4 separate regions of the Homo sapiens genome follow, and regions 1, 2 and 3 are each linked to region 4. Evidence: promoter capture Hi-C in human tissues and cell types (Jung and others, 2019). All regions are on one chromosome and are shown on one strand. The core of a region is centred on a gene start or on the middle of the fragment in contact, and the rest is flanking DNA. Distances in the headings are between cores, read along the strand shown. Region 1 overlaps CIB4 (calcium and integrin binding family member 4). Region 2 overlaps OTOF (otoferlin). Region 3 overlaps CIB4 (calcium and integrin binding family member 4). Region 4 holds the start of OTOF (otoferlin).

Region 1 (5,679 bases), core at 2,022-4,521, 63 kb after region 4:
GGGGGTCCAGTCGGACCGGGTGCTGGGGAAGGGTCTACGTGTGGGTACTCCGAGGGCCTGGTCCTAGCCTGACCGCAGGGCAGCACTGGCGAGGTCCTTCCTGGGTCCTCATGGAGGAAGAAGTTGTGCCAAGGCTTGCATGGCCGCCCAGGAAGCCACTCAGCTCCTAAGAAGTGGGAAGGAGATGCTGACGGGCATGACCAAGGCATCTCCCACCGGCCTCTCTAGGAGGGACTGTGCTTACTGGTAGCCTGGGTGAGACCATCTGGGCCCCAGCTTTGGGCACTTTGGGCACTTGGGTCAATAATCTGAGCGCTGTGAAGCCCCTGGCTGGTGAGTCTCCTGTTCTTTATCCAGAATTCCCTGAGAAGAAGCCCCATCGGCCCCCATGACCGAACTCGGTGCACAACCCGCAGTAAAGGCATAGTCACTTCTTATGGGGTGATGGATGAGAACCAGGCGTGGGAGCCTCTATTCACCAGGCATTCTCCACAAAAACTTCTCTTATCCATGGTCTTTTCCCTCTGGGGATGAAATCAAAGGAAAGAGGAGTGACATTTCCCAGGAGTCTCCCCACAGGGCCCTCCCCGGGGGGTGAGGGAGGCTCCGGAGGTGCCTGGCTGCTGGGCGTCCCAGCGTGGAGACCGGAAGGAGGGCAGTACAGGACCAGGCTCTCAGGACACCAGCCTCATGGAGCGCTTGGGAGTTTGGGAATGGAGAATGGAAAAGGAAAGTTGTGGGGGCAGCTGCTATATGTGCGGAAGATTCTACGAGGGCAACGATGAGGAGGGGATTTCTGTAATGTTTTACTGCACATCGGAAAGGCAGGTGTGATTCCTGGGTAAAGCGACAGGGTGAAAGATCCCTTGCATCAAACCTCACTCCCTCCTGACACCTGCCAAAATGAAAGTAAAGGGGTTTCTTAGAGGCATGACCCACAAAAACATAGAGACCTGACAGGGAAACAACAGCAGATTCACAGTGACATACACAGGAAACAGACAAGCAAGTGGGAAGTAACCCAGCAGATTTGAGGAAGCAGGACCCAAAGCCCACAGCGGGGAAGGTGACACCACCCCGATCTCCATCCCGGAATCCCCTACAGACTCTGCGACTGAGGAAGCAGGAACCAAAGCCCACAGCGGGGAAGGCAACACAATCCTGATCTACATCCCAGAATCCCCTACAGACTCTGTGACTGAGGAAGCAGGACCCTAAGCCCACAGCAGGGAAGGTGACACCACCCCGATCTCCATCCCGGAATCCCCTACAGACTCCGCAACTGAGGAAGCAGGACCTGAAGCCCACAGCGGGGAAGGCAACACCATCCTGATCTCCATCCCGGAATCCCCTACAGACTCTGCGACTGAGGAAGCAGGACCCGAAGCCCACAGCGGGGAAGGCAACACCATCCTGATCTACATCCCAGAATCCCCTACAGACTCTGTGACTGAGGAAGCAGGACCCTAAGCCCACAGTGGGGAAGGTGACACCACCCCAATCTCCATCCCAGAATCCCCTACAGACTCCGCGACTGAGGAAGCAGGACCCGAATCCCACAGCGGGGAAGGTGACACCACCCTGATCTCCATCCCGGAATCCCCTACAGACTCTGCGACTGGAAGTCCCTGGTAGCGCTGGAAATAGAGGCTGGCTGAAAGGAAGGTCAATTGCAAGTGTTTAAAGCAGTTGGAGTTCTAGACACCCCCACCCCCGCCAACCTACAGGCTGCTCAGCACCACGGGGTGACTGCCCATCCCCAGCCCCTGCAAAAGACGGGAGTTTGTTCTCTGGGGAGAGTATAGCAGAGGCTTTCTCCACGGGGGACGTCAGACATGGTTGAGAACTGGGGAGTGAATAAACATACAGGTGCTGAACTCTGAGACCTCACCAGCCCTCTTTCCTAACATGGCTCTAGGATGCTAGCAGGCAGAATTTTACTCTCCATTTTTCTAGAGAATCCTCAAAATGACCCCTCAGATCGCCCTTCAGTGAAGCTCCCAGTTGATAAATCCCACCTAGGGACTTCAGCTTTAAAACAGCTTTTTAGCAACCACCCTTCAGTCATCATCATGAGCCCTTGATGACCAGATATCTGAGGAAGGCTTCTGACGCGCAAGCCAAGGACCCAAACAAACAAGTGAGAAAAGCACCTTAAAGGAAAAAGGAGAGGACGCTACAAAAACGAGAAAGATCAGAGAACAAAAATGAGCTCTTGGAAACTAAACGCATGATGGCAGAAGTGAAAAACCCTATTAGAGTTGAAGATAAAGTGGAGGAAATCTTCCAGAAAGAAGAGCAAAAAGGCAAAGATGAAAAGTAGGAGAGAAAAGACAGAGAATAAAGGACCAATCTAGGATGTACAGCATCAGAATATTAAAGTTCCAGAAAGAAAGGACAAAGAAAACAGAAGGGAGAAAGTTATCAATGAAATAATTAAAGGAAAGGCCCCAGAGCTGAAGGACATGAGTTTCCAGACTGAGTGGGTCCTCCGCGTGCCTCACACACAGGGGAAAGGACTCGTGCCAACAATTATTGTTGGGAATATCAGAGTAGTAAAATAAAAGAGAAGAGTCTACAAGTTTCCAGGAAAAAAAAAAAAAAAAAAACAGGGAATGAAAAAAGATCAGGAAACAGAAAGGCTTTGGACCTCTCAATAACAACGGTGAAAGCTAAAATGCAATTAAGTGATGCTTTCCAAATTCTAAAGAAAAATGATATCCAACCTACAATTCCATCTAAACTCTCAGTCAAAGGCCAGTTTCAGTGGCATGCACATGTTATCCCAGCACTTTGGGAGGCTGAGGCAGGAGAATTACTTAAGCCCAGGAGATCAAGACCAGCCTAGGCAACATAGTGGGACCCTATCTCTACAAAAAATAAATAAATAGGTAAATTATCAGTCAAGTATGAGAGGAGAAAAAGACATTTTCAGATATGTAAGTTGTAAAAACATTTATCTCCATGCAGCCTTTATCAGAAAGCTACCAGAGGATGTGCTCCACCAAAAGAAGGGGAGTAAATGGAGAGACATGAAAACAGAAAATGCAAGACCCAAGAGAGTGGTGAGAAGAATCTGAGATGGTCATGAAAGGAGATCCCAAGGTGGTAACATATACCAGGCTCAGAGGGCAACCCAGTCCTGGTTAGAGAATGTTAGAAGGCTCCAAGAGAAATTTTGCTAGGAAAAGGAAATGTACAGGAAACTTCTCACTTCTAAATGCCTTTGGAGAAGACTTAGAAGATTGGCAGAGGTTTGGTGTCATTTCAATGAAAAGTACATAGACAACTAAGCAAAAACAATGATGACATCCAGGAAAAATAAACAAAACTACACAGAAAGGGAAAGTAACTACAGCTTATTTCATGACTCAGCTCTGAACAGTGTATGCAGTCATAATAATACAAAACATTGAGGCCAGGCATGGTGGCTCACGCCTGTAATCCCAGCATTTTGGGAGGCCGAGGCGGGTGGATCGCCTGAGGTCAGGAGTTCGAGACCAGCCTGGCCTACATGGTGAAACCCTGTCTCTGCTAAAAATGCAAAAATTAGCTGGGCATGGTGGCGGGCACCTGTAATCCCAGCTACTTGGGAGGCTGAGGTAGGAGAATTGCTTGAACCCAAGAGACAGAGGTTGCAGTGAGCCGAGATCGCATCACTGTACTCCAGCCTGGGCGACAAAGCAAGACTCCATCTCAAAAAATAATAATAATAAATAATAATAATACAAAACATTGACTATTGATCTCCCCCAAACTATCATGTAACTATATTGGGAGGGCAGGGGAACAAGGAGTGAGGAATAGGATGGGTGTTGGGGAGGGGAAGAGCTTTAGCTCTTCTTAGGGGAAGTCAAAGGCTGAACTATCAAGAAGGGGTAATACAAGGTGCTCTTTAAAGACATGGAGGCAAATAAGGAAAGAATCAGCCAAGAGCTGAAAATAGTTGCCTTTGAGAAGAGGAAATGTGGCAACCCTCATAGGGCAACTTAACTCCTGGCACACATGAATAATTTTGATTTAAAAACTTAAAAAAAAGGCCAGGTGAGGTGGCTCACACCTGTAATCCCAGCATTTTGGGAGGCCGAGGTGGGCAGATCACTTGAGGTCAGGAGTTCAAGACCAACCTGGCCAACATGGAGAAACCCTATCTCTACTAAAAATACAAAAATTAGCCAGGCATGGCGGCACGCGCCTGTAATCCCAGCTACTCAGAAGGCTGGGGCAGAAGAATTGCTTGAACCTGGGAGGCAGAGGTTGCAGTGAGCTGAGATGGTGCTTCTGCACTCCAACATGGGCAACAGAGTGAGACTCCATCTCAAAAAAAATAAATAAGAATAAATAAATAAATAAATGATAAAAACTAAAAAAAATTTTTTTTAATTAGAATAAAAATTAAGGCTAGGTATGGTGGTTCATGCCTCTAATCCCAGCACTTTGGGAGGCTGAGGCAGGAGAATTGCTTAAACCCAGGCATTCAAGACCAACCAGACAACATGACAAGACTCCATCTCTATGAAAAACACAAAAATTAGCTGGGTGTGGTGGTACATGCCTGTGGTTCCAGCTACTCGGGAGGCTGAGGCAGGAGGATCGCTTTAGCCCCAGAGATTGAGGCTGCAGGGAGCCGTGTTCACACCACTGCACGCTAACCTGGGCAACAGAGTGAGACCCTGTCTCAAAATAAATAAATAAATAATAAAATAAATATTAAATTTTTAAAAATACACTACCATTCCCACCCCACCTACTTTTAGGATTTCTTGAAAGGCTGAGTAAATTTCAGGACTTTTCATCGCTTTCAGCCTTGGGAGTGAGTTCTTTGCAAGCTGTTCTAAGCAGATAGGAACTAGTTCTAAGCAGGACTCAGAAAGGCTCGGAAAACTTTGGGAGATACATAGAAACCGAGATGGAGCTGAAACCTTAGGGGCCATCCTGACCATACCTCCCTACACCTTGGGCAGGTTTCCAAACCTCTCTGCTCTGTAACAGATGGAATAAAATGTAGCAGGGGCGGGTCTATGCGAAGACCATCTGCCAGCAGGAAGCCCGGAGCAGGAGGAGGGAAGAGGCCAGGGGGGTGAGGTGGCCCCGCCAGTGTGCAGGCCTCCACCCTACCTGCTCCAAGGCCCTGCGATCTTCCTTTAGGCCCTGTTTCCAGCCATCCCCAGTGGATGCAACTACAGCTCTGGGCTCGGAAACTAGAAACCCAAGTCACACCATGCCACACTCATCTGTGTTTACAGAAAGCAAGATAATTATTTACAAGAACAGAAACATTGAGCTAATACACTTTTAAATACACCAAATCCATCAGACAAAAAGAAAACAGAAACTGCTGAGTGGAAAGGGGGCACTGTGTCCTGTCCCCGTGCGGGACATTTTGGTCAGCAGGCTTTTCCTGCTACCCAGGATGTTCTCTCGCCTTGTTCTCCACTGATAGGCAGACCCTTCCCAATATTCCCAAGCCCGCTTTTTCCACGAGTGAACCCAAGTTAAGAAAACAAAGCTTTCTTCCCAGACCACTCAAGCCCCTGAGCCAAGTTATATCAGTACCCAGAGCTCCCTGGGGCCCAGTTCTCAAAGCCTATTCCAGAGACGTGTTCTGGGCAGTGTGAGTCACGCAGCTCCCGTCCTTGCGGCCACAGAGGATGCAGGCACAGCCGGGCCCCCACCTCC
Region 2 (5,455 bases), core at 216-2,715, 38 kb before region 4:
GGTGCATGAAATCCAGCTTTAGCTGAGCCCTTGCAGAGAAGCTTCCAGATGCTCAGTGTGGAGGCTGGGAAAGGACCTGAGTTTCCTGGATGGACAAGTAGCTCCTCCGGCTTCTACCCGCCTAACCATGACCAAGGTTTCCAGCCCACACCAACAGCACTCACTCATCCATTCCACATCTGCAGCCTGTAAGTTCCTGGATGGCAGGAACCTGTGTGATGGCAGAGCCCATGGAACTGCACAGCAGGGGAGAGGCGGTGCAATGCTTTGGTTAACAGCACAGTCCTGGCATCAAAGAGACAGGGATCTGAACCCAGCTCTGACACTGACTAGCAAGCTACCTGCTTCCTGGGCAACTTCCTTAAGCTCTCTCAGTGTCGGTTTTCTCATAAGATGAGCTGATAAGCCCTACTTCACAGAGTTGTTGTTGGAGGACTGAATGAGATCATCTGCGAGTGTTCTTGTCAAAGCCCCCAGCACACAGCCAGCACTCCAAAGCAGTCCGTTTTGTCGTGATTCATGTACTGCCTCTAAACTGTGAACCTCTCAAGGGCATGGGTGGTGCTTTTTATTCTAGCCTCTGTTTGACATTTCTAGCACACTAGAGATCTCAATATCTGCTGGCTGAATTAATGAACAACAGTGGGTGCCCAATAAATGCTGATGGAGTTGACTTCAACCCCATTGCACCCCACAGTCAGAAGGCTGTTTGTTGCTCTGGGAGAGAACAGGGAACTCAGACAGACGTTCTTACATGGTGCTTCCACATAGAGTGGATTAGAATACACACACCATTTCTAGCTGAAGGCACAAAGGGGAGGGAAGCATCCAGGGCGTGTGAGAGCTGGAAGGGACCTTGGGCATCATCTGATGCTGCCTGAGATTTATAGAGGAAGACAGTGAGGCCATGGAAGGGGAAGGGACACAGCTAATTAATGGTAGATCTGGGTGAGGTGAGGTATCAGATGAATTCTGACTCAGACATGCTTCATGTCTCTACCACCCTGAGGTCTGTGGAGGGTGAACATTGATTTTTTAAAAATCTTCCCATCTGTGTGAGGGGAGGAAGTGGTAGGGGCAGCCATGAGGAATGGATATGAAATGCTCCCCTTTGGAGCTCAGAGCCCCAACCACCATTGTGCCCCACCTCCCTGAGGATGAAACTGACCACGCCACTCCTTCACTCTAAAGCCGAACTGGGCTTCTGGGCCCTTAGAGCAGCCCATGGAAGCCTTCTTCCATAGCTGCATGCACCTCTCCCAGCTCAGGCAGTGCCCCAGAGACAGAAGTGCTGGGCTGGGGGCCAGGAGCCCTGGAGCTGCTGCCCCTGAGTCTCAATTTGGTCTTTATAAAATGAAGAGGGAAGGGGACTTTTAGCTTCCGTACCATGTAGACATTCTAACAGTAGACCACGGGCACGAAAAAATACACTCATCTTTTTGCAGCCTCACCCCTTTTTGTTCTAAATCAGTGGTTCTCAAACTTCAGCATGAGCAGAATCACCTGGAGGGCTTGTGAAAACATGCACGGCTGGGATATCCTCTTCTGTGGATATGCTGGAAAATGTGTCACTGGTGGGAGAGGAGAGGTGCTCATCTGTAGCATTTGCTGGTTTCTGAGATATAAATACTCCCGCCATGGCCAACTTCAAGCTTCTAATGTGAAGTCACCAAACTGGGTCCACCGGACTTCAGTTCACACCACTGGCCCCGACCCCAGGGCTCTGATTCAGTGGGTGGGAGAGGGCCTGAGAATGTGTATTTCTGACAAGTTTCCAGGTGATGCTGAAGCTGCTGGCTGGGGAGACACTTTGAGAATCCCTGCTCTACTATTACCCTTTGTGGATGGCTATTCAGCTGCCTTGATTCCCCTAGGACCTGTCGAGCACCTGTTGAGCGTGGGGCGATCAGGCACATCTTTCTCCAGAATTAGATGCCTAAGAACAGCCAAGGCAGCTCCCCAGGATCCGCAGAGGTGCTGCAATGTGACAAGACACTCCCAGGGGGCAGGGTGGAGCTATTCCCCCTGCAAGTGCTCACAGAGGCGTCTGGTGCCTTCTAGGCTTAACCTGCCTGAATCTCAGATCTTATACTTGGGAAGAACCTGAGAGACCTTGTCCAGCGCCCCTTCCAGGAGGAATCCCTGAAACAACCTCCCTGACATGTGCTTTTAAGTCCCTGCTAGATACTCCGGTGGTGGTGACAGTGATGGGGCTGTCACTGGTAGTCCATTCAGCCACTGCCTTAATCACACAGTGTGCTGAGCAAGATTGGCCTCCAGGCAAATCCCCTACTCTTCCTACCCTGGTCCAAGCCCTGTCCACATGCAGATTAATTCCATCCCTAAAGGGAAGCGGTGTAGACAGTGAGGAGCCTGGGCTCTGGAGTCAGACAGATGTGGGCTCACTCAGCAGGACCCAAGGGAGATTCCACCTCCTGGCAGCAGTGTGGTTTTGGCTCCTTCTGCTATAGCCCTCCGACTTCCACCGGACAGTGGTGAGGAGACTGCTCATGTGAAATTCCTCTACCAACACCGGCACTCGGATGCCAGCCCCTCCTCCCTCCCTAATAATGAGCAGGGCTGGCCATCTGGAGAGCCTACACAGGGCGAGTCTCCTTTGCAGGATGGGCTTCAGGGGCAGGTCCAGGCAGTCCCCCACCCTTCAAGCTGTGCACAGCCTCGCACAGCCAGAGCTTGTCTATGGCCTGGAGGGTGGGACTGGGACGCTAGGAGCTTGCAAGATTAAAGGAATCAATTTGCCACACCTCCAAGAGTGGCTTGGGGGGTTTTAACTCCTAACAGTTCACCCCCCAACCTCTCTCAAATAAAAGTAAAAATTATATTTTTTGACATGGACAATTGATATTATCTCAGCCTTATGTAAAGTATAAAGAAAAGCAGTTTTATAAACCTTGACTCTTTCTACAGGTCTGTAACATACCATTTAAGCAAAAACACAGTGCTTGCCATGAAAACAGTTTCAAAACAAAGGCCCTGGCACTGCTTCTAGGATGCCATCCCTCAGCCCGTCTTCTATAGATATTCTTTGGGAAGAAGCTGGGACAGGAAGAGGTAGGAGAAGCCCCTGGCTCTGGCCCTTGTGGTGACCCCAGAGGCGACCCTGCCCGCCGCAGCTGGCCTTTGTGCATCCTGGCTGCACACATAGTAGGTTCTTACTCCTCTGCATGGGTCAGCATGGAGGAGCTGCCTGGGAGAGTGGGGCCCAGGACGATTGAGGAAGGGTGGGCTCATATGCTCCTTAGACAGCTGAGTCATTTCCCTAGAAATGGAGTTGTGAGGCCATGTGTTCTGTGGGAAGGAGCACTGGCCCGGGTGTCAGGAGGCCTGGGGTGAAGACCTGACTGTCCTGAACCTGCTGTGTGACCCTGGACAAGAGGCCTCTCTGGGCCTCAGTTTCCCTGGGGCTGTCAGGCAAAGGATCTGGGGCTAACTCCATGTCCTCTGACTACTTGCCTTACAGGGCCATCCAGGTCACCATGGCAAAGAGGACACCCCTCACAGGAGGCTGTCTGGCCCCACGAGGGGCTGGGCGGCTGGGCAGAGCTAAGATCCCCACGTAATTAGCCGGCAGGAAAAGGCCTCCAGCCCAGATGGGCCCACAGACTGATCACAATAGAGCGGCAACTGGGCACCAGAATCCTGTCAATAATTCATCACTTTCCCCTGGGAGCCCGTGTCAGGTGTCCTGGGCCCTGCGAGGCCTCTCCTGCTGTCCTGGCTCCTGAATTATTCAGGGTCCCTGGCATCCTTAGCAGGCAGGAGGCTGGAGGCCAGGCCATGGACCCTCAGAGGTCCCGGACAGGCAGAGCTGGATGCACAAAATCTTCTGAACCGAACATTTCTTTCTCATGGGGAAGCCCAAGGTTCCTGGACACAGGTCTTTGTTCCAAACGGGGCCAAGCAGACCTGGAGGTCTCCTGGTTTCTGCCTAGGATGCCTCCTTCCTTCATACCATGTCTCTGCCTCCTGGCAGCCTCTAGAACCACTGGGTGAGGGGCCAGTTTCCAAGCTACTCTCTGCTTCTAGGACAAGTCTCTCTCTCTGAGATGGCAGTGATGGGATCAGGCTCATTTCTCGTCCTGGGACCCACTCTCCCAGGCAGCTCCTCCATGCCTCTTTTAGCTCAATTTCCCCAAATGCATCGGTCATGTGATGCTGAGTGTCACCCTTGAGTGCCCTGAGTCCTTCAGAGAAGAGGGGCCACTCCGATTCCCTCTCAAAGGCTCTCCCACCTTGTATACCTACCCTCTGCCTCCTAACACCACAGGGGCATTTATTCATTCTTTTATTCCACAAAATAATCAGGAGCCTGCCATGTGCCAGGCACTGTCCCCAGCAGTGGCCATGGCTTTGCTCATTGCTAAGCCTAGTGCAGACCCCAAAGACCCCTTCCACTCAGCTGCCCCATGAGAAGGAGCCTGGGGTCTGAACTGGGCCATGTGGGGGTTGAGGGCAGTGGCCTCATTGCTCCTCTGGCCTGGCCCAGGCAAATGCCAGGATGGGGAGACTTGAGTCTCACATCATTCCAAACACCTCTCTCCCACTCTGACCCCCACAAGCTGGCCTGTGTCAGCCTGGGCCTGTGCTCTCCACAAGGGGACCTCTTCTTTCCCATCTCAGCTCTGCAGCCAGCAGTGCCCTGGGCATTCTCTAGGCTTCCAAAGAAATGCCAGAACCTCTCCCACCAGGCCTGGGCCTCCCCTTGTGGGGTTTCCTGCCTTCTCTTGGATGGGGGCAGGGAGGGAAGAAGAGGAGAGTTAGGATAGGAACTATTCCCCTTTCTGTCTTCCTTCTTATTGGCACTTAAGAACATCTAATACAGGCTGGATTTGGTGGCTGGCACCTGTAATCCCAGCACTTTGGGAAGCTGAGGCAGGTCTATTACCTGAAGCCAGGAGTTCGAGACCATCCTGGCCAACATGGGGAAAACCCTGTCTCTACTAAAAATACAAAAATTATCCAGGCCTGGTGGCATGCACCTGTAGTCCCAGCTACTCGGGAGGCCAAGACATGAGAATCACTTGAACTCAGGAGGCAGAGGTTGCAATGAGCCGAGACTAGGCCACTGCACTCCAGCCTGGGTGACAGAGTGAGATTCTGTCTCTGAACAAAACAAAAACCAAAAACACCTAATAGAAGCTGTAACTTTCAACATATTCACTGCATGGGAGTCAATTTCCCGATTTCCCAAATACTTCTGATTTGTTTGTAGCAGTCTTTTGATGGGCTCAAGTGTTTCCAGCATTTCAGTGGTTAGGCTGGTGGCTTTCATTATAAATGATTTAACAATGTCTTCCATGCCCTCAGTTTCCACCATCACTGCTCAAATATTTTGGTTTCTGGGAGTTGGATTAGGAAGAGAAGTTAACAGACATGCATTCTAGCCCTGGCTCTACCATTGTCTACCCATGTGACCTCAGGTTCCCCTCTGAGA
Region 3 (5,337 bases), core at 2,321-4,820, 33 kb after region 4:
GGACAGGGCAGCCTGGGAGGGGCTGGGGGCTGAGAGCTCCGGGAGGCTGACCAGCCCAGGCGGCCTCTGCAGCCTCAGACCACTTGGGAGGGGCTAGAGCCTTCTTCTTGCTGTCTCCCAACAATGCTAGGAGGGGCTCAGAGAGCTGGTGGAGTCAGGGCTCAGCCTTCAGTCCCCCCAAAGACTCTGACCATTGTCACTCGAAGTCTCTGTCATTCTTACTACTTGCAGTTTCCCAGGACTTTTACAGAAATCAACCTGTGGTGGAGGGAGGGCTCCTTTCACCGTGACTTTTGTGAGAACTGAGGTTTCTTCCTTTGCCTCTCCCCAGCCACCTGCACCTGCCGTGGCGTCAGTCCCTGGGAAGGTATGGGGAGACCTGCCAAAGGTGCTCCGGTACCTGCCTGGGGATAATTCCTAACTGGTGGAGGCTGTGCTGATGGGAGCAGGAAGACATTGCTGGGATGGTGGTCTCTCACCAGTGGAAACTGTCTCCAGAGGTACAGAGAGAGGAGAGTGAGCAGTTGGAGACCAGAGTGTCTCTCAGAGCAGGACATGGAGGCCAGTAGGTAAGCTCCAGGGAGGTGTGGCTGTCCCTGCTGGCTGCTGCCGCTGCTGCCGCTTCTTCTTTCTTCTTCTTCTTCTTCTTCTTCTTCTTCTTCTTCTTCTTCTTCTTCTTCTTCTTCTTCTTCTTCTTCTTCTTCTTCTTCCTCTTCCTCTTCCTCTTCTTCTTCTTCTTCTTCTTCTTCTTCTTCTTCCTCTTCTTCTTCTTCTTCTTCTTCTTCTTCTTCTCCTTCCCCTTCCCCTTCCCCTTCTCCTTCTCCTTCTTCCTCTTCCTCTTCCTCCCCTTCCCCTTCCTCTTCTTCTTCCTCCTCCTCCCCCTCTTCTTCTACTTCTCCTTCCTCCTATTCTCCTTCCTCCTCCTCCTTCTTTCCTCCTCCTCCTCCTCTCCTTCTCCTTCTCCTCCTTCTCCTTCTTCTTCTATTTTTGAGACAGAGTCTCACTCTTCTTCCCCAGGCTGGAGTGCAGTAGCACAATCTCAGCTCACTGCAACCTCTGCCTGACAAGTTCAAGTGATTCTCTTGCCTCAGCCTCCTGAGTAGCTGGGACTACAGGTGCCTGCCACCATGCCTAGCTAGTTTTTGTATTTTTAGTAGAGACGGGGTTTCACCATGTTGGCCAGGCTGGTCTCAAACTCCTGACCTCAGGTGATCCACCCACCTCAGCCTCTCAAAGTGCTGGGATTACAGGTGTGAGCCACTGCACCCAGCCCCTGCTGGATTCTTGACCAAAAGCCATTCTCCTGTCTTTCTTACTAACATAACTGCAGTTTCTTTTCAGGATGACACCATGTCCAGCTTAAAATGTGTAGCTGGATGTTTTAAGTCTCCTTTGCAGCTATGGGTAGCCAGGTGACATAGTTCTAGCCAATGAAATATAAACCAAAAATGCCGGGTGGGGCTTCCAAGAAAGCTTGTGAAAGGAGAGTGGACTTAGCTGCACTTTGGACGTACTTTTGTCCTGATCCCTTCTCCTATCACCTTTTCTTCCTGAAATGAAGATGAGATGTCTTTGGGCACAGAAGCCATGTTGTGACTATGAGGATAATGGTCCCCGACTGTTGGCAGAACAGGAAGCTTGAAGGAGCCTGGGCCCTCAGTAACCTCCTGAAGCCATTGCCCCAACTCTGGACTGCCTGACTCCAGACTTTGTTTTTTCTTTTTTGTAATACCATGGCCACTGCTCCACATCACTGAATGCAACCCTAGCTCCTGCAGCAGTTTAGAGCAACAGTTCTCACAGTCTGCTGCTCATTCGAGCCATCCAGGGAGCTTCCAAAAAGCCCAGGGACCAGGACATACCCAATACCATTCCATCAGGTCCCTGGAGCTGGGGCCCAAGCATCTGTAAAAAAAAAAAAAAAAAAAAAAAAAACTCACAGGTGATTCAATGTACAGCCAAGTGTGAGAAGCAGTGGGTTAGATCAATGCTTCTTAGACGTTAAAGCACAGAGGAATCTTGCTAAAATGCAGATTCAGATCCAGTGGGTGGAGTAGGGCCTGGGGCTCTGCATTTCTGATAAGCTTCCTGGCAGTGCTGATACTGCTGCTCTGTGGGCCACACCGGGGGTAGCAAGGGGCCGGAGCACTGAGTTCCGTCTTTGGACGGAATCATCACCATGACAGTTACCATGCCCGCCTTCTCCTTTCCCTTTCTGTCTCCTTTCCCCTCTTTTTTGATCCTTCTTCATCCTTCACTGTGGACCACTCCCCCCTCGACTTACTACGCAGGCTCAGGATCCACGTGTCCCATCTCTAATCTTGCTGACAGCTCTGTAAAGAAACCTTCCGAGCCCAGAGAGAATTCAGGGTTGTCTGAGTCTATCTGATGAAGCCTGGGCATTTATGAGCCCCTGAGCATCTATTTGCACAGCTGATTTGCATGAAGGCTTTGAACTTTTTGTGTTTGTGCTGAGGCTGGAGGAAGGAACCTCTGTGCTGCAAGGGGCCTGGAGAGAGAGTGGGGAGAAAGATACAAAGACATTGTGGGGGATATTGTGGTGTCTAGTCCTTGATCTACCCTGAGGCTCTCAGTCTGACCTCTGGGGACAGTGGGTGTTCTCCCCATGTCGCAGCTGAACACGATTTAGCTTGTGCCTTGAAGCCCAAGGAGAACCTTCTGCTCACCTCGCTCCTGAAGGGTTTGAGTGTTTTTGTTTGTTTAGCTCAGGAAACCATGGAAAGTCAGCGGAGGCAGACGTCTTTTGTGGCCTCTGCCCAGCCTACGCTCTACCGTCTCTGAGAAGTGTCCCCACCCCAGTGGCAGGCCTCTGGAGCCATGCTTGTTTCACAACTCTGCTTCTTTTTGGCTGCAGGTGATTGGGCAAGGCTGGTCACCTATCCCAGGGGAAGCTAGATCACTGGCTGGGTGAGAAAACAGAAGGGAGAAACAGAGATGCTTGTGGCTACTCAGAGTGAAGCCTACAGGCCATGTGGGGGCCGGGGAGTCATCTTTGGCCTGTGGGCACAGAGGCATAGCAGATCTGCAGAAGGAGAAGGAAAGCCCACAGAGAGAGGCAGAGATGAGAGACGAGGCAGCCATGGAGAGGAGACTGCAGCTGCCTGGCTTCCTGACTCTCATCCAGCTGTGCCCTAGGGCCCCAGGAGTCCTGCCTCACTTCCACCATGGGCTCCATAGTGCTCTTGGCAGACGAACTCTAGTGACCTCTCTCCTAAGAGCCACACATCTTGGTGCTCAGGCTTTCGTATAATCCCCAACCCCCTTGAGTGTGGGTGGGAACTGTGACTTGCTTGTAACCAATGGAACTTGGCAAAAGTGATGGGCTGTCACCTCCACCATCACGCTGTCTTTTATGACTCCATCTTGCCAGTGGGGTGACTCAAGAGTCTCTCCCCCTGGCTGTCTTTAAAGAAGCAAGTGGCCAGGTTGAGAGGCCCATGTGTCCAGGAGCTGAGGGCAGCCTCCGGCTGAGAGCCGGCAAGAAGTCAAGGCCCTAAGTCCTGCAGACACAAGGAAGTAAATTCTGCCAACAACGTGGGCAAGCTCATGAGCAGATTCCCCCAGTCAAGCGCCCTCCAGGTGAGAAGGCACCCCGGCCAGAACCTTGATGGCAGCTTGCAAAACCCTAAGAGGAGGACCCAACTAAGTGATGCCTGGACTCCTAACCCACAGAAACTGTGAGGTTACTAATGTATGTAATCTAAAGCCTCTAAGCTTGTGGTAATTTCTTACACAATGGAAAACTCATCTAGTGCTGGTTCTTATCAGTGGCATTTACATAGGTAAGTTTCTGTGGTTTGCAACCGAAAGACTCTTGGCTAAGACAGAAACAGCAAGCCTGGGCTGGCATCTTCCCAGAGGAGCGACCCCAGCCAGAGAGCACTGATGGGGGCTTGAGCCAGCACGGCTGCCACCTGTGGGAGGCCTGGCCGAGAGGAGCAGCGGCTAGAGGGCTCCAACTCCCTGGATGCATTGGGATCCCCATGGAAACTCCCAGAAATACTTGTGGTAAGGAAGGGGGAACGCTGGTGTGGACAGGTGGGGCCCATGAAGCCAACAGAATTTGGGTATGTGATTTAATTTCTACATACCCTGCTTGGAGTTCACTGTAAATCTGTGTCTTACATCAAATGTAGGACATTTGGGGCCATTATGTCTTCAAATATCTTTTCTGCACCGGTCACTCTCTCCTCTCCTTGTCAGACTCCACCTAGATACATGTTAGAGCTTTCTATTGTCCTGCACGTCTCTGAGGCTCTGTTCCCCTTTCCCTTGAATAATTTTTCTCTCTGTTCTTCAGATTAAGTTATTTCTATTGTTCTGTCTTCAAGTTTCCTGACTCTTCTGTTATCTCAATTCTCTCGTTAAGCTCATCCAGTGCATTTTTGTTTCAGATATTTTATTTTTCAGTTCTATATTTTCCATTTGATTCTTTCTTATAGTTTCTACTTCTTTGCTGAGATTTCCTATCTTTTCATTTGTTATGAGCAGTTTTTACATCCTTGGGCATGATTATTGTGATGATTAATGGTACGTGTCAATTTGACTGAGCTAAGGTTGCCCGGATAGCTGGCAACAGATTCTTTCTGGGTGTCTCTGTCAGGGTGTTTCCGGAAGAGACTGGCATTTGAATCAATAGGCTGAGTAAAGATGATCTGTCCTCACCAATTAGACATTGTTCCATCCATGGAGGGTCCAACGAACAAAAAGGTGGGGGAAGGATGAATTTGTACTCTCTGAGCTGAGACATCCGTCTTCTCCCATCCACAGACATTGATGCTCCTGGTTCTTGGACTTTCAGAATGAATTATGCTACCGCCTTTCCTAGCTTTCCAGCTTGCAGACAGCAGATGATGGGACTCCTCAGCCTCCATAATCACATGAGCCAGTTCCTAGAATAAATCTCTCTCTCTTTCTAGATATATATGTAGAGATATGTGTGTGTGTGTGTGTATATGTGTGTGTGTGTATATATACATATATACATATACATATATACACACGCACACATATACACACACACATATATACACACACATATATACACACACATATATATACACACTATATATACCCACACATACACTCACATACATATACACATATAAATAGCCTATTGGTTCTGTTTCTCTGCAGAATCCTGACTAATACAGTTATAATAGCTAATTTTAAATCTTTATTAGCTAATTCCAACATCTAGGTCATGTCAGTCAGTCTCCATTCTTGAGAATTCATCAATGAAAACAAATTTTTGTACATTGTGTACAATTTTGAATAGCTTCTTGGATATTATAAATGTTTTGTTGTAGACACTCT
Region 4 (5,161 bases), core at 4-2,503:
CCTCGCCTCCTTGCCCTGCTTGGCTCTCTGGCCTCCGCTCCTGCACCCTCTCTGAGCTGTAGACACATGGAACCTCTTTCAGTTCCAGAGTTTCAGCTCCTCTCTCAGCTCTGGGCACACTGTTTCCTCTGCCTCCTCAGTCCTTACCTCCTCTCCTAGCTCCCACCCGCTGGTCCTTCGGGTATTAGCTGAGTGTTACTTCCTCCGGGAAGCCTTCCCTGACCACCGGTCACCAGCCTGGGTGAGGGTGCTGCTTCTGTAGCTTGCATGCTGCACCCCCACCTTCTGTCTCACATACCTGTCCTGCTTGTTCCACGCCTGCCCAACAGATGCAGGCTCCTTGGGGCTGGGGCTGGGTTGTGCTCAGCTCTGTGTTTCTACCCCTATCCTTGGGACACAGTAGATCATAATAAATGGTCGCTGAATACAGGAGTGAAAAGGATGAGAAAAGACCAGACAGAAGAGAGGCGAGGGGCTCCCGGGGTTCCCGCCCATGAATAGATCTAAAAGAAGCCAACAGTGTCCCCCATCACTCTGGGGCCCAGGGAGCTACTGGCTGCCTGGTTTCTCCCAGTCACCCTGGGTGCCCCAGGCTCCATACCCGGCCCCCACCCTGTGCTCAAGGAAATCAACCTGCAGGAGAGGGAGAGAGAGAGAAGGAGGGGGTCCTGGGTCTCCCTGAGCTCAGGGATGTGGTCCTCACTTCTGCCTCCCCAGGCAGAGGGCTCTGTGCCCTGCCCGGGGAACTGGCATGTTGGCAAGCACAAGGAGACACAGGCATGGAAGAACAGGGGACCCTGATTTTCCAGAAATCACAATGGCCAGTCAGTCCCAGGCAGATGACTACCTGTGAAAAGGCTCGTCGCCCCAGCCCCTGCTAGAACTTTTCCCACCCATCCTCCCAGCCCTGTCCTATCCCCGGCCACCTCCAGAGCATGGGCTGGTCCAGCTCTCAGAGCTGGCGTCCCTCTGAGACAGCGGCTTCCCTACCTCGGAAAGTCACTTTGGCGATCCGGTCGCCCCTGCCCCGCAGCTCCGAGACTGTCTTGAGGTGGATGAGCAAGGCCATGCTGGTGTGGGCTGCCTGGCACTGCCAGGCAGGAGCAGCGGGAAGGAGCTAGCCGGTGGAGCACGGCTCACACGCCTCTCTCTTCTCTGCCGCTGCCTCCTCCTCCTCCTCCCGACCCCCCTCCGATGCTGCCCACAGAGACCAAGGCAACCAAGCCGAGCTAAGCTGCTCCTGCAGCGACTCACAGAGCCTCACAGCCCCCGCCCCTCCAAGTTGTCAGCCCAGCGTGTGTGTATCGGTGTGTGCGTGTGTGTGTGTGTGTGTGTGCACCCAATGTGCAGCCTGGGAGTGCGGCAGAGTTGGAATTCATTATTCAGCAGCCGCCGGCTCCCAGATAAAGCTCTGTCCAGCTTCAGGTGTCTTCTCCCAGCTCCTGGAAGGGAGGCTCTGCCCACCCCTCTGCAGGGCTCTGCTGCTTCCCTGCTAAGCAAGCCCTGCCACCAGTAGTGGGCACAGAGGAGTGGGCATGAGCATAGGTAGGGTGGATGTGGGGCGGGGGGCACTCCCACCCACAGGGGCACACTACAAGAAGAAGGGAATGTATTTGTCCACCTACGCCCACCTCTTCCCTGCTGGAGACTGTGCCCCCAAGAGGCTGGGCCCTGAGCCCTGCCCTGGGATCCCTGTTTCTGAATCTCAGGAAGCAGAGAGGCTGGGGCTGCTGCCTGAGGGGAGGCTCAGGACCAGGCCATGCATGATGGAGATGGCTGGTTGTGGAGGCAGCAGAGGCTTATGTGCTACCAGGGGCCATGTTTAAGGATCCAGGGCACTAACCTAGCCCCACCCCAAGGCTGGGGGTCAGGCAGGCTAGCGAAGGTAAGCCAGGCTGATGTTTGCTTTCCAGCCAGAGGAGCAGAATTGAATGGCCTTCTGCTGTTATAAGCTGCTAGGGGCAGGAGAAGGGATGTCTATAGGGAAATTTCTAAGGACCAAAAGAGAACTGCCCCCTCCTGTCTTCCAGCAGCATACACCAAGGAAAGGGACGCTGGGGGCCAGAATCCCTGATGCTGGAATCTGTGCAGGGTCATCTGCAGCCTTGTTCTTGCTATTCATTCTTGGTGGAATGCCCTCCACCCCACCCTGGACTCAGCTTGAGTGCCTGCTCCTGGAGGTGCCTCTGTACCCGCACCCCAGCTGGGTTGGGGTCCTCCTCTGTGCTGCTCCTGCCTCCTCTCATCTTACTGAGTCCTGGGGCTGCTTCCCTTGCCTTTTCCCCTCCTGACCTCAGGAGGGCCCTGGAGCACAGCATCCCTCTACCCCAGAGCCCCACATGGTATCCTGTGCACCGTAGGATGCCCAATTACTGTTGAAAGGATAAAAGAGTGAGCTCAGGGATCTACCTGAAACAGAGTCTAAAGGTTAAAAAGAGAAATACTAATTTTTCACAGCATGGTAACAAGAGGTTACTTCTTTTGAATTCTGCATTCCAAATAACCTACAGTATGTCCCAAGAGCCTTCTTTCCTCCTTCTAGATATTTCCTTGCTACTGTGCCCTATTTTTCTTTTTCTACTTACGTTTTTTTCCTTTGCACTTTTTCCTAACCAATTCTTGCTTACCTTTCTCACATTTATCTAATCATATTGAATTTAAAAATGTCTTAGAGTATTCTGTTTATTGAATACAAGTATGAATGCTAAATTTTCAAAAGCTAGATAAGTTTAATGTCTTAAAAAAAAAAACACCTAAATTCACTAGCATTTTCCATCCATGAGGTCATCAGGTGATCTGTGTTTTTAAGGCTTGGTGACTACAAGGTACAACAACAACAACAGAAAATATCTTCTTCCTTGGTTCTCTGGAGGTCCTCCCCTGAAAGGAGTGAATTTCATGAGGCCTCTTATAGACCCTGTGCATCTTTAGGAAAAAGCCCATGATCCTGCCCTAGCCAAGGCATTGATCTATGCTGAATCTCACTTTCCACATCCATAAAATGGTAGCAATTCCACTCAGCAGCTCTCAATGGAGTCAGCTGGCCTTTCTGAAAACCTAAGAGACAGATCCCACTCTTTTTTTTTTTTTTTTTTTGAGAGAGAGTCTCACTCTGTCACCCAGGCTGGAGGGCAGTGGAGTGATCTAGGCTCACTGCAACCTCTGCCTCCCGGGTTCAAGCGATTCTCCTGCCTCAGCCTCCCAAATAGGTCAGACTATAAGCATGTGCTACCATGCCCAGCTAATGTTTGTATTTTTAGTAGAGATGGGGTTTCACCATGTTGGCTAGGCTGGTCTCAAACTGCTGACCTCAAGTGATCCGCCTGCCTCGGCCTTCCAAAATGCTGGGATTACAGGCATGAGCCACCGTTCCCAGCCAGAACCCACTTTTTAATTTCCATTCTTCTGTTACCCATTTTGGTAACTGAGTATATAATTTATGTAATGAACATTTACTGAATTCTTTCCAGAGCCAGGTGCTGAGATTCAGGGATGAATATGATATGGATGGCACAGGATCCCAATCAGACGAGACAGATGGACTAGAACACAGGCAGGTGGAAGGCAGGGTGGTGGGTTTACCAGCAGGACTGGCTGGGCAGCCCTGAATGGGGGAGGAAGTAGGCGGTCAACCTCACCAGGGCTGGGGGTCTTTGACTCATGTTTTCCTTATTGTAGAACATGTTCCCCAATGAGAATTTAGAAAAATACAGACATGACTGCATTCTGAAGGATGGATGGATTTTCCTTCCACCCAGTTTGTTTGCAGCCGTTCCTTTGCCTACAGCTCTCTTTCCAACCAGGCCTCAGTGTTTCTGCTTCCTGAGCCTCTGGGAAGCCTGTGGCTCCCCTTCATTTCATTGGCATTTGCCAGGGGAAGTCTTTGGAGAATGCTGGTGGCAGCCACATTCTGTGAACCCAGTAGCGTCTGCGGTCTTCATCCACTGCCATTTACAGAACCGAAGTGCGAGGGGAGCACTGCTCTCCATCCGGCATCTGAAGGGAAGAAGCAAGACCTGGAGACAAAGTGGGAACTGCCAGGCTTCTTCATGACACCAGGACTGCTGCAGAGGGAGCTGGGGTGGCAGGGCCTCCACCCGAGTCACCAAGAGCCTGGCACCGTGGAAGCTGTCCCCATACCCTCACCCCTTATGGAAAAGCCGAAGGCCCTGTGCCTGCCCTAGGCACCAAGGCTGGTGTAAGGGTCCCTGGAGAAACTCAAATGTGGAGGCTGAAGCAGTCACAGGGAGGATTACACAGGGGGTGGGCCTTCAGCAGGCCTGCTCTCTGGGGCAAGCGCTACCCCTGCGGATGCCATCCCCAAAATGAACGGCAGCATTGGGGACAAATGTAAATCACACACCCAGACGTTCTATGATTTTCTTTTTGCCTCTTGTGGAGTAGTTTACAGGTATGATGAGGTGAGAAGGAAGCCATCAGCTAGAGATTAAGAAGAAAAATGAAAAATGCTCCTCTTCGCAAGGCGCGCACACACACACGCACACATGCACGCACGCACGCACACACACAATTACACACAGCGTCCTAGGCAACCTCGCCCAGCGCGGCCCACTACAGAGCCCCTTCCTGGAACTCCCATGGAGCTGGGGTGCAGGGGAAGCCTTGGAGAGACATAGCTCCTGGGGACCCTAAGGCCACTCAGGTTTCTGGGCCTGAGCCACGGTGGGGCAGCTGCTTCGTGCGTGACCTCCAAAGTCAGGACCTGGCCTGTCCTTTGTGGTAGCGTCGCGTTCCAAGCCGGGTCACCGCAAGACGGATCCCGCCAGGCCTCTCCAGCGATGTTCTGCCTCCCTCCCGCATCTGAGCCTCTGCACATCCCGCAGGCAGCAAGGCAGAGAGCCCCGACGCGCCGGGGCAAGTGACAGGGGTCACCCAGCAGAGCTCGCGGAAATGGGAGGCGCCTTCTGGGCGCGCCCTATGGGGCTGCTCCGGGAGGTGGCCGCCAGGGGGGCGCAGTGTCTCGGAACGCGAGGACCGCGGGGCCAGCTGGCGTTGCCAGGCTCGCCGCCGTGGCCGTTGCCAGGTGACCCGCCGCTGTTTACCGTGGGGCGGAGCGGAGCGCCAGGCTCGCTGTACTCGCGCACCCACCATGGCCTCCCGCAGCGCGGGCACCCTACTGACCGAGTTCAATGCCGCCTAC

What was found. Contacts are between HindIII fragments. The study calls those that stand out against the background at their distance.
Region 1: a contact is called between a fragment that was not itself captured here and the fragment with the promoter of OTOF in region 4, in 2 of the 25 tissues and cell types used here (bladder and pancreas).
Region 2: a fragment that was not itself captured here is called in contact with the fragment with the promoter of OTOF in region 4 in 1 of the 25 tissues and cell types used here (neural progenitor cells).
Region 3: a fragment that was not itself captured here is called in contact with the fragment with the promoter of OTOF in region 4 in 2 of the 25 tissues and cell types used here (bladder and pancreas).

The regions. Positions count from the first base shown.
Region 1 is chr2:26,618,663-26,624,341 of GRCh38, forward strand. The region is part of intron 3 of CIB4 (calcium and integrin binding family member 4); the gene reads right to left. Among named protein-coding and RNA genes, the nearest start is that of CIB4, 20 kb to the right of the region's middle. The HindIII fragment of the contact is 7,786 bases long and covers 1-5,679 here.
Region 2 is chr2:26,519,384-26,524,838 of GRCh38, forward strand. All of the region lies in intron 3 of OTOF (otoferlin), which reads right to left. Among named protein-coding and RNA genes, the nearest start is that of OTOF, 37 kb to the right of the region's middle. RefSeq lists a silencer at 1,912-2,077. The HindIII fragment of the contact is 6,873 bases long and covers 1-4,902 here.
Region 3 is chr2:26,588,350-26,593,686 of GRCh38, forward strand. All of the region lies in intron 4 of CIB4 (calcium and integrin binding family member 4), which reads right to left. Among named protein-coding and RNA genes, the nearest start is that of CIMIP2C, 28 kb to the left of the region's middle. RefSeq lists enhancers at 2,498-3,242, 3,243-3,986. The HindIII fragment of the contact is 4,031 bases long and covers 1,556-5,337 here.
Region 4 is chr2:26,557,503-26,562,663 of GRCh38, forward strand. OTOF (otoferlin) reads right to left here and starts at 1,254. Exons shown (of 47, transcript NM_194248.3): 1 at 991-1,254. The coding sequence starts at 1,069. It overlaps CIMIP2C (ciliary microtubule inner protein 2C), which reads left to right and starts at 5,085. Exons shown (of 4, transcript NM_001105519.3): 1 at 5,085-5,161. The coding sequence starts at 5,111. RefSeq lists enhancers at 615-1,408, 1,409-2,201, 4,859-5,161 and a silencer at 4,957-5,096. The HindIII fragment of the contact is 11,571 bases long and covers 1-5,161 here.